Regions from separate parts of the Homo sapiens genome. Here all the other regions are linked to region 1. The links are contacts of gene promoters, found by promoter capture Hi-C in human tissues and cell types (Jung and others, 2019). All regions are on one chromosome and are shown on one strand. Each heading gives the region's core, a stretch centred on a gene start or on the middle of the fragment in contact. The rest is flanking DNA. Distances are from core to core; before and after follow the strand shown.

Region 1 (2,798 bases), core at 200-2,699:
GATGGGCTCCGTGTCGTTCTGTGCCCAGACGGGCAGCCCCGGCAGCGTGAGGACCAGCAGCACGGCCGGCACCGCGGACAGCGCCCGGCGCCCGGAGCCCATGGTGAGCCGTGTGGGCAGCCGCAGCCGGCTGGCGCTGGTGCTCGCCCGCGTCGCCTCCTACCCCGGGATCCCGGTGCTCGGGAAGATGCTAGCGGCTAGGTCGACAGCGCTGCAGGAGCGACGGCGGCGGCGGCGCGCACACTTCCACCAATTCTGTGGCTTGAAGTCAAAGTCTCCCCTCGAGCTCTCTCGCTGGCTCTGTTACCTTTGTCCTTTAAGGAGCTCATGCAGCACCCTTTACCCTACTCTCCTCCGCCCAAGAATCAGCCCTGCCTGGGGCCCCTGCACCCACTCTGGTTCCTAGACATCTGAAAGTCATCAAACCCTCACATTCACACCTCAAGGCAAAAAATAATAATAATAATAAATTCTCACCCCAAACTCAAGCACCACCAGCTAAACCACGGAGCAGGAACAAAAAGAGGGGACTCAAAGAGAAGCCACAAGGGTGGCGGGTGCCCAGCGGCGCGGGTGCCAGTCCTGTCTGGCTTGCGGCAGGGACGAGTTACAGAGGCAGAAGGTCCTTCCCAGGCTGAGAAGAACGCGAGGCTGTGTTCATGGCCAGGACGCCAGCGACTCCCACTTTCGCCTGGTCAAAAAAATCCCCCAAACCTGGTGTCACCCAGAGGTAGGGAGGGAGGCAGCGGCTAGCCAGGTCCCTCGCACCGAAAGCGCGGATTCGCAGGATCAGGTCCAGGGCGCCGGGCGCAGCGTTCAGGGCGGCTGGTCCGGCGGGGTCCTCTCCTGCCTGGCCGCCCGCCCCCAGTCCCTGCGCACAACTTTCTCGTCCCTCGTGCAGCCCGGAGAGCGCGAAGCGGGCACACGCGCTCTATTTATAGGAGCGCAGCGTCCGGCTGGGTTGGCTTATCGCGCAACCCGCGGGCTCCGAGAAAAGGGGGAGAAGGCGTCTGGTGACCCCATCTGAGCAGCTCTCTCCTGACGTTTAACGCACCCCAAAGCAAGCGGGGCGCACAGCACTGGTGATTGGCAAGGTTCGAGGCCCCTCAGCCCCTGAAAGCCCGTGGCGTAAAGGATGCGTGCCCAGAGAGGAGCCCACGGCCCTGCGCTGGCCCCAGCTCCGCGCCCACTCTCTCCTGCTCGATCTGAGTCCGCAGAGGAGGCGGCTGGTCCCCTCACCCCTCCCAGCGCGGAACTCTGCCGCCGAGTGCCCTCCAAGCGGAGCGCGGCGCTGCCAGGCCGGGTCGCGAAAAAGGATAAGCCGCCGCGGACCCGCGCTGCGCGCTGCCCCGAACCTGGGGACCGGCGGGCGTCCCGACCGCGCCTGGCCGGGAGCCCGCCCCACACAGCCCTGGGGCCTGGCGAGCTCAGGGAAGCCTTGGGGCGGACCAGAGCCCGTGGGGGCGGCTGGGAGGAGGTGCCTGATTCCTTCCTTCCGCTCCGGGAAGATGAGCCTCAGAAGCCGCAGGGGCGCGCCTTCCCCCCACACCGCGAATCCTCCCCAGGCATGGCCAAAAAAAAGAGTGGGAGAGGGAGTTAACTCAGCAAGAATAAGTCCTCCGAAACCGTGCCAACAACAATAAAAAAATAAAAATAAAAATAAAAATAAAAGACAATCCCACTCCTAGGAATACAGCATTTTTCTCCCCTTTGGATGCGCTTTCCGCCCCCGTGCCACTCCACTGCTATCTTGGCCTCTGATTTGCAAGAGTTCCCTTCCTCTTCTGCAGCTACCACGGGGAAGGGAGGTTTGTCTCTGTCTGGACCCGGCTGCGTGAACTTGGCCGAGTCACTAACCCTCTCTGAGAGGGGGGCGCGGCGTTAACTAAGGTCCTCCCCACCCCCATCCCGCCAGCTTTCCAATTCTGTGATGCTGTGGGGTCATGGCGCCCCTTCCCCAATTTCTTCTACACTTCCAGCTGCCAGAGGGCAGACACGTATGGTATCTTTAACCAAAACAGTATCCCCTCCAGGCATTCGGAGCTCCTAAAATGGCATTGGCTAGTTATGAATGGAAGGGATGTTTATTGAGGGAGGTCCTTGGGATGGACGGCTCCCATTCCTTCCTGAGTGAAGGACGCCCTCATGAGCGTGGCATTCGAGCCCTCCACAAAACAAGGTGAACCTCGTCTCCAGCCTTTTTCCCTTCCTTCAGAAGGGCCGGGCATTGAGCTATAAGCACCAGCTCCAACTGTTAAAATTGAAGACACTACGAGGAATCCCCTAACCCTCACCTCCCTATAATCTCTCAACTAAAGTGTTAATACTTGGTGCCACAGGGGCCTTCAGATTCTGCTCCAGTGGGGCCAGTATCAGGTGTTTTGACTTTATGATTTTATTTTACTTGTGGTGGGGGGTGGTCTCGCTATATTGCCCAGGCTAGATGCAAAACTACTGGGCTCAAGCGATTCTACTACCTCAGCCTCCCCAGTAGCTGAGACTACAGGCCGGTGTCAGTTCCGGCTGGCAGGTGCTAGTACCATGCTATTTGTTAAAATGTTGAAAGTTACCTATCTAAGCTACAACCAAACAAGGTGAACTAGTGCCTTCTGAAGATGGCCACCATTTACCCAGCTTTGATGCCCCACCCTAAGCCCAGCACAATCTTCACCTGATCCCTCTCTGCACTTTGTAACTCTCTTCCAGATTTTAGGGATGTCTGCCTGGTTAACAGCAGCAATTTCTTCTCATTTGATGCAGTCTTTTGAGGGTGGGTGCTGAGTTGAATTTAGTTCCTT
Region 2 (2,798 bases), core at 141-2,640, 170 kb before region 1:
CACACACACGCGTAGTGTGTATATATTTCATATATATATATATATATATATATATATATATATATATATATATATAAAATTCCAGATCAGACCAAGTTTCTGCCCTTCTGTTTCTGAGAAAGTAACAAGAATCTAAATGCATATTGTCGGCAAACTCAGCTGTGACTAGGATCCTGGCAGGAGAGGAAAGCACAAAGGAAGCCTGCTCCAGTGACACTGATTCAGCTCCTGCCTGAAGCACCGCTTTCTGGCTGTGTGGCCAAAGCCACATGAAAAAAGAAAAGGGAGGTCCCAAAACCTCACCCACAGTGTGGACACTGCTGTATTTCAGCAATATGGATTGAGAGCCTCAGGGTCATTCATGTATCCTTTGAAGCTGGCATTACACTTTTGGGAAAAGATCCTGAAAAAAAAAATCAGAGATATATATAGAGACTTAGGTACAAAGGTATTTACCACAGGACAATTTCTGACAGTGAAAAATTAGAGATAACCTTAATACCCTAAACAAATAAACAAAGATCCTTCCTCCTTATGATGGAATATTAGTTAGCTATCATAAGCCAGGTTTTTCAAAACTGTTAATAAAATTCTCAAAATGTTAAATGTAAAAAACAAACATAAACATAAAATTACATAGTCTATGCCTCCTATTTTGTAACAGTTCTCACACACACACACACACACACACACACACACACCCCAGTAGCAAACACACACCAATATGTTCATAATGCACAGAATGAAAAGCTAGAGGAAACAGGCCAAAATATTCACAATTATTAAGTAATTATTTCTGGGTACTAAGATTGTGGAGATAGTTCCATTTTTCCTTAGGTTATTATGAATGGTCCAAACTTTAAACAGTGAGCATGTGTTACTATTACAGTTAATAAAAAAAAAAAGTTATTTAAAAAACAAGAACCTGCAGGCCATATTAATAACTGTATTTAAAGCCTATGGAAGTTACCACTGGTAGCTGAGGACATCATGCAGAAAGAACAGGAGAAGGAGAATGGTTGTTGCCTTCACCACGAAAGCCCCAATGTGCTACCTCTACCAGCCACATTGTCAATAACAGTTGGCTTTTTTTTTTTTTTTTTTTTTTTTTTTTTTTTTTTTTTTGCCAGGGACCAATTTCGGGCAGAAGACTTAAATTAGGTAAATATAGATTCTGTTACACTCTATTGTTTTGTTTGCATAGCCAGCAGTCTACGTTGTTTCTAGAGGACTCTAGAGGACCTTAATGTGTTTCTACCTCAAGGTGACCTCTGAAGAGTTACCCTTTAGTAGAAAGAAGTACAATGGTCACCAAAAATGGTCATTCCACAACCATCAAAACAATATTAGACAACTTTGGATTCATATTTTAGTCTTATTCCTGGTTTCGGACAACTCTGATGTTAACAGCTTTTAGAAGTTTTAGATGTTTGCTTTATTTTCTTTCATACCATTACCAATAATTCATTATCAGATAACTAAAATTTGCACATTTTAAGGGATTAACACAGTAAATTTAAAATTTTCATTAAGCTGCCCCACTGCTAAAATGTACAACTTGATTATATACAAAATAATTTCAATTAAGAAGGTAATACATTTTTGCTGTGGTAACAGAAAGCATTTGGAAATAAATTACCTATGTTTATCACTAGCAGCAAGTTAAGCTATTATGTATTCAGAAACGAACAAAAATAAAGCTTATTTTATATATACATATATATACACACACACATATATCCTTTTAGAAAGTTATTTTATGTATGCAAATGAAAATACCCCTGTGGTTGACAACTGTAATTAAGGTTTCTCTCTAGCTTTCAGAAAAATAGTGTTTCCCTCTCTTCCCGCAAAGTAGTTCATCCAATTGGTACACCTAATTGAACCTGAAATTTCATACGTTCCACAAGATCATGTTAATCTCATCATTTTCTTCATCTCTTAGCTTGGTTAAAGGCAAAGAGTTATTGAGAGAAGCTGTGATTGGCATGTCTTCTGCTGATCAATTGCAATTTCCTCTCCTTGTAAACTCTATTTAGTGTTACAAAAACAATTCAAAGGCAGAGATTGTAGGTGCCAGGCTTTTCCTCTGACCTTTAAATCAAATTTAGAATTTCACAGGGTAGTATGCCTTCAAGCAAAATCTGTCGGCTTAATAAAGTGGAAATTTTCTGCAATAAATCTGCAATAAATTTCTACCATTCACAAAGAAAGGTAAGCTTTACTTATTGCTGAATAGTTCTGAACAAGGGCGCAAGCTTCTTGGGTGAGATAAAAACAAGTGCTGTTAAACGTAAGAACAACTCAAAATAATGAAAGAAAAAGGGTGAGTGTCATAAATATAATGAGAAAACAAAAGAAACACAGAGAAGAAAAACAGGATAGAGGAAAAAATATGACAGAATTACGAAGAGGCAAGACCAAGACATGAACAAAGGGGAAACAAAGAAGGGACACAAGGAAAAATAGATGATTAATTTTTGTCTCATTTTGCCAATAAGTACAAGATCATTACAATCATAAGATCTCCTGTGTAGGATACATAAAATCACTGTTTTGGGGGTGGTGAACCACAACTGTACTCTAATCCCTGCTGAGTCTCCATATGTGTTTGTTATAGCACCAAATGATCTAATGGCTTATTCTATTTTCCAAACAAGTAAATGCCAAGTATTTGCTAAGGAAACTAAGGTCAAATATATACATTTCTTTTCTCTATTTTCTAAAGGAAATCCTACTAATTCCCACTGGCAGAGGACCACATACATATAAGAGACCAATAGATATACCCATTCGCA
Region 3 (2,798 bases), core at 107-2,606, 150 kb before region 1:
TTTGGCAACCTGTTTATCTGAAAATCTACAGTCCTGAAAGATTATTTCTTTATCCTTGAAATGTAAATGTTTTACTAATATGCTTGTCTTATTTAATTTGGCAGGACTAATCGTTGGTCTTTTTGATTTTTAGATTTAATTATTTGGCTGGTTGGGTTTTTTTAATGTTTGAGATTTAGACTCACTATGCCTGTGTTCTCTTTTTCTGCAATTCTTGTTTTGTAGATTTCCTGGAACTATCCTCATCTCTTATTTTTTTCGCTCATCATTTTTAACACTTCTTTTTTGCCATAGAATTATGGGTAATTTTTTTGATTTGCCTTCCATGGAACAAATTCTATTTTTTTCAGTACCCACTCTGCAGTTCATTATCCCCACCTAAGTTCAATCATTACTTAAATTTCCTTGCAGACATTTCAGTGACAGATTATTCCTTCTTCCTACTTATTCTAACTCTGTAAATGTACTCATAAAGTAAATCTTAACAATGCAATTATTTTTTCAACTATTCCCCTAGTTTTGTAGCCAATCTATTTTTTAAAGGGGCATTTCCCTTAATTCTTTATGGTTATTCATGACTTAAAACTGTAGCAGATTGAATATACTCTTTGGTGAACGATTTCTGTTTTAGCATCTTTTAGTTTTGTGTACCTGCAGGCCCCTTTTCTGGTTCACCTCCACCTTTCTAAAGTAAAGGCCTGATTTATTATTCTCATCTACTTATTTCCTGGAAATTGTATTGTAGTTCTCACAAGTATTTAGGCTAGTCCTATCTGCACTCTATGTGGCTAAAAGTACCAAAATATCTACCATATTTAGGGCCTTTTCCTGAGTTCTAAAATTATTCCTATTTTTATCTTCAGCTGGTCATATCCTGAAGACTTTAGAACTCTGGCCACATGTTACCCAGAAGATGACAGATGATGGATCATGATTTTGAATTTCAGGAACAACCACTACCTCTTTATCCAATAACCACATAAGCAATCACAAATCAAGTAAGAAGCAAAATCTTCAGGGATGCTGGGATGGAGATATATAAGTTTTCAGAAAGTACCAAAATACACATGATTTTGAAATAGGTTGATTTTAAAGGGAGGCCTATATCCTTGAGGTAAACTTTTCCCAGTAACAAGCTTATTAAAATCTCTTTCTGCTACACTCCACAAGAAAGACGGAGGAACAGAAGAGAAAAGGGCTTTTAGTAAGAGTATATGGACTTTTTTTTTTTTTGACCCAAGGTCTTGCTTTGTCACCTAGGATGTAGTGCACTGGCGTGATCACAGCTCACTGAAGTGTGGAGCTCCTAGGCTCAAGCAATCCTCCCACCCTAGCTTCCCAAGTAGCTGGGACTACAGGTGCAAGCCACTATCTCCAGCTAATTTTTCTATTTTTTGTAGACATGGGGCCTCACTATGTTCCCCACGCTGGTCACAAACTCCTGGCCTCAAGCAATCCTCAATCCTCCTGCCTTAGCCTCCCAAAGTGCTGGCATTACAGACATAAGCCACCATGGCCATGACCTTTTAAAGCTGTTTTATAATGAAATTTTTAAACATCTTCTCCACACTATTAAAAGCTGATTTTTGTTTACCTTTTATGGGAAAGAGTTTTGCTAACATCTTAGTGAAAAACAGTTGAGAGTTTGTAATAAAACTATTAATAGTCATTCATTTATTCAATCAATACATATTTATGCAATACCTACTAGGTTCTAGAATAATGGCTGGTACATTACATATATTGATATAACGAGGAACAAATCCAATCCCTAACCTCAATCTATGTAATTTGCAAGTCTCTACAGACAAATAGATTACGGATAGACAGATAAATAGATATTAAACATATATGTATGTATAATAAGCCACAAGTACACATATACTTTTAGAATTGAACAAATGTGTATTATCTCCTTACTTAAAGAGAACTAGGTATAGAATATTCATTAATGTATAAGCATTCTAATTAATTGTTACAGGTTGAAATGAATGTGAGTGTATATATGCACTCATATGAAAACTTCATACTAAATGATGTAGAACACATTGCTTACACCAACAGTACCCTTTTGTCTTCTCAACACATCCTTTTTATCCTTTAATAAAGTCCATGGTTTTCAAAAAATAGACATTATTAAGGGAATGAGCTGAATTTCAGGCATCTACAGTTGGTTTATCATCAACTTACATTTTGTAAGTGTTCAACATCAACACTTACAAAAGAAATTTTACATTTGGCTGTACCATACTGTAAAAATAAAAAGCAACAATAATCACATCAACAAGACTATGTTTGTTAAATATTTCCATAACTTCTGCCTGTTGATGGCTTCCGGCTTTCCTACAATGGGTAGCATTTCAGATTCTGACTGATAAGCAAAGAGCTAAAGTGATTGCTAAAAACTCTAGAGAATTTTAGGTTAAAAAAGTCGTAGGTGTTTCATTTAGACACCTATGTCTGTTGATTTACTTTTGGTTTGTTTGTATGGCTCTCACAAATTTCTGGAAAAAGAAAAATGATCAGAGAGAAGGTTTGAAAGAGTGAGAAAAGCAAAGTGGAAAAAAATAACAACATGATCAGAGATTGTAACTAAGTCTAAATTTGGAAACTTATTTCAGGTTATTTTTATTTTTACTCATCACAGTCAATAATACTGTTGATATTCAAATAGCCATCAAAGCTTTAGCTAAGACATGTTAGAATAAGGGCTCATCTCTGAGGAAATTCATTGAATCTCTCTTCATTGAAAGGGGATGGGCATTTTAACTTTAGGCTTTAATCAAAAATTAAGAATG
Region 4 (2,798 bases), core at 83-2,582, 140 kb before region 1:
AGGAAATTCTAGACTTGAATTCAACACTTAACCAACTGGACTTAAAAGGCATCTATGGAATACTCCCCCTATCAACCACAGAATAATACACTCTCTCATCTGCACACAGAACATACTCCAAGATTGACCACAGGCTCACCCATAAAGCAAGTCTCAATCAACTCAAAAAAATCAAAACCATACCAACCACACTCTTGGACCACAGTGGGATAAAAAGAAAAAAAATCAGTACCCCAGTCCTCTCAAAACCACACAACTACATGAAAATTAAACAACTTGCTTCTAATTAACTTTTGGATAAACAAAAAAATTAAGGCAGAAATTTTAAAAAAATCTTTGAAATAAATGAAAACAGAGACACACCATAGCAAAGTCTCTGGGATGCAGAAAAACCAGGGGAAAAAAGGAAAGTTTACAGCACGACATCCTTATGTGAAAAAGTTAGAAAGATCTCAAACTAACAACCTAATATTACACTTAGAGGAACTAGAAAAACAAGAACAAATAAAATCCAAGGCTAGGAGAACAAATAAAATAAGTAAAATTGGAGTGGAACTGAACGGAATTGAGACCCAAAAATCTACACAATCGATGAAAGAAAAAGTTGTTTCTTTGAAAGGAAAAACAAGATTGATAGATCACTAGCTAGATTAACAAAAAAAAAAAGAGAGAGAGAGATCCAAATAAGCACAATTAGAAATGGCAAAAATGACATTACAACCAATCCCACAGAAATACAAAAGATCCTCAGAGACTACTATGAACACCTCTATACACTCAAACTAGAAAATCTAGAGGAAATGGATGAATTTCTGGAAACACACAACCTCCCAAGGTAAAATCAGGAATAAATTGAAACCCCAGACAGGCCAATATCAAGTTTTGAAATTGAATCATTAATAAAAACCTACCAACCATAAAAGCCCAGACCAGATGGATTCTGTCTTAGTCTGTTCTTGCACTTCTATAAAGAAATACCTGAGATGGAATAATTTATAAAGAAAAGAGGTTTAACTGGCTCATGATTCCACAGGCTGTAAGGAAGCATGACTGGGGAGGCCTCAGGAAACTTACAATCATGGTGGAAGGTGAAGGGGAAGCAGGCACTTCTTCACATGGCCAGAGGAGGAAGAAGTGAGGCAGGAGGTGCTACACATGTTTAAACAACCAGATCTCACAATAACTCACTCACTATCACAAGAACAGAACCAAAGGGAAATCTGCCCCCATGATTCAATCACCTCCTACCAGGCCCTATCTCCAACATTGGAGATTAGAATTTGACATGAGATTTGGGCAGAGGAACAGACCCAAACCATATCAGATTTATAGCTGAATTTTATCAGACCTACAAAGAAAAGCTAGTACCAATCCTACTGAAACTATTTCAAAAAAGTAAGGAAGAGGGACTCCTCCATAACTCATTCTGTGAAGGTAGCGTCACCCTAACGCCAAGAACCTGGCAGAGATACAACGAACAAAATAAAACCTCAGGCCAATATCCCTGATGAACACAGACTCAAAAATCCTCAACAAAATACTAGCAAACTTAATCCAGCAGCACATCAAAAAGTTAATTCACCACAATCAGGTAGGTTTCATCCCTAGGATGCAAGGTTGGTTCAACAGATGCAAATTAATAAAAGTGATTCACCACATAAAGAGAAATAAAAACAAAAACCATATCATCTTCTCAACAGATGCAGGAAAAACCTTCAAGGAAACCCAACATCCTCTCCTGTTATAAACCTTCAACAAACTGGGCAGCAAAAGAACATACCTCAAAATAATAGGAGCCATCTATGACAAACTCACAACCAACATCATACGGAGGAGGCAAAAGCCGGAAGCATTCCTCTTGAGAACTGGAACATGCCAAGGATGCCCATACTTACCACCTATTCACCATAGTACTAGAAGTCCTAGCCAGAGAAAGAAATAAAGCGCATCCAAAATGAAAAAAAGAAGTCAAAGTAGCTCTTGTCTCTGATAATAAAATTTTATACCTGGAGAACCCTAAATACTCAATTAAAAGGCTCAAGGAGCTGATCAACAACTTCAGTAAGGTTTCAAGATACAAAATCAATCTCCAAAAATCAGTAGCATTTCTGTACATCAATAATGTTCAAGCTGAGAGCCAAATCAGGAATGCAATCCCATTTACAATAATAACAAATGCAATAAAATACTTAGAAATACATCCAACCAAGCAGGTGAAAGATCTCTACAAGGAGAACTAGAAAACATTGCTAAAAGAAATCATAGATGACACAAATAGACAAACATTCCATGCTCATCAATTGGAAGAATCAATACCATTAAAATGGCCATACTGTCCCAAACAATCTACCAATTTGATATTTACATCAAAGTGGCAACATCATCTTTCACAAAACTAGGAAAAACTATTCTGAAATTTATATCTAACCAAAAAAGATCCCAAATGGCCAAAGCAATCCTAAGCAAAAAGAATAAACTCAGAGGCATTACATTACCTGACTTCAAACTATAGTATAAGGCTACAGTAACCATAACAGCATGGTACTGGTACAAGAACAGATACCAATAGAACAGAATTTTAAAACCAATAGAACAGAATTTTAAAAAACACAAATAAAGCTGCATACCTCCAGCTATCTGATCTTCAGCAAAGTCAACAAAAATAAGCAATGAGGAAAAGACTCCCTATTCAATAAATCGTACTGAGATAGCTGACTAACCATATGCAGAAGAATGTAACTGGACCTCTACCATTTGCCATATACCAAAATTAACTAAATGTGGATTATAGATTTAAA

Evidence for each region. Contacts are between HindIII fragments. The study calls those that stand out against the background at their distance.
Region 2: a fragment that was not itself captured here is called in contact with the fragment with the promoter of CBLN4 in region 1 in 4 of the 25 tissues and cell types used here (H1 embryonic stem cells, lymphoblastoid cells, mesenchymal stem cells and 1 more).
Region 3: a fragment that was not itself captured here is called in contact with the fragment with the promoter of CBLN4 in region 1 in 2 of the 25 tissues and cell types used here (dorsolateral prefrontal cortex and lymphoblastoid cells).
Region 4: a fragment that was not itself captured here is called in contact with the fragment with the promoter of CBLN4 in region 1 in 2 of the 25 tissues and cell types used here (lymphoblastoid cells and thymus).

Annotation. Positions count from the first base shown.
Region 1 is chr20:56,004,070-56,006,867 of GRCh38, forward strand. It overlaps CBLN4 (cerebellin 4 precursor), which reads right to left and starts at 1,450. Exons shown (of 3, transcript NM_080617.6): 1 at 1-1,450. The coding sequence starts at 102. The HindIII fragment of the contact is 15,736 bases long and covers 1-2,798 here.
Region 2 is chr20:55,831,654-55,834,451 of GRCh38, forward strand. No RefSeq gene overlaps it. Among named protein-coding and RNA genes, the nearest start is that of CBLN4, 170 kb to the right of the region's middle. The HindIII fragment of the contact is 3,890 bases long and covers 1-2,798 here.
Region 3 is chr20:55,851,639-55,854,436 of GRCh38, forward strand. It overlaps LOC105372678 (a long non-coding RNA gene), which reads left to right and starts at 870. Exons shown (of 3, transcript XR_001754724.1): 1 at 870-998. The HindIII fragment of the contact is 4,383 bases long and covers 1-2,798 here.
Region 4 is chr20:55,867,930-55,870,727 of GRCh38, forward strand. No RefSeq gene overlaps it. Among named protein-coding and RNA genes, the nearest start is that of CBLN4, 140 kb to the right of the region's middle. The HindIII fragment of the contact is 5,189 bases long and covers 1-2,798 here.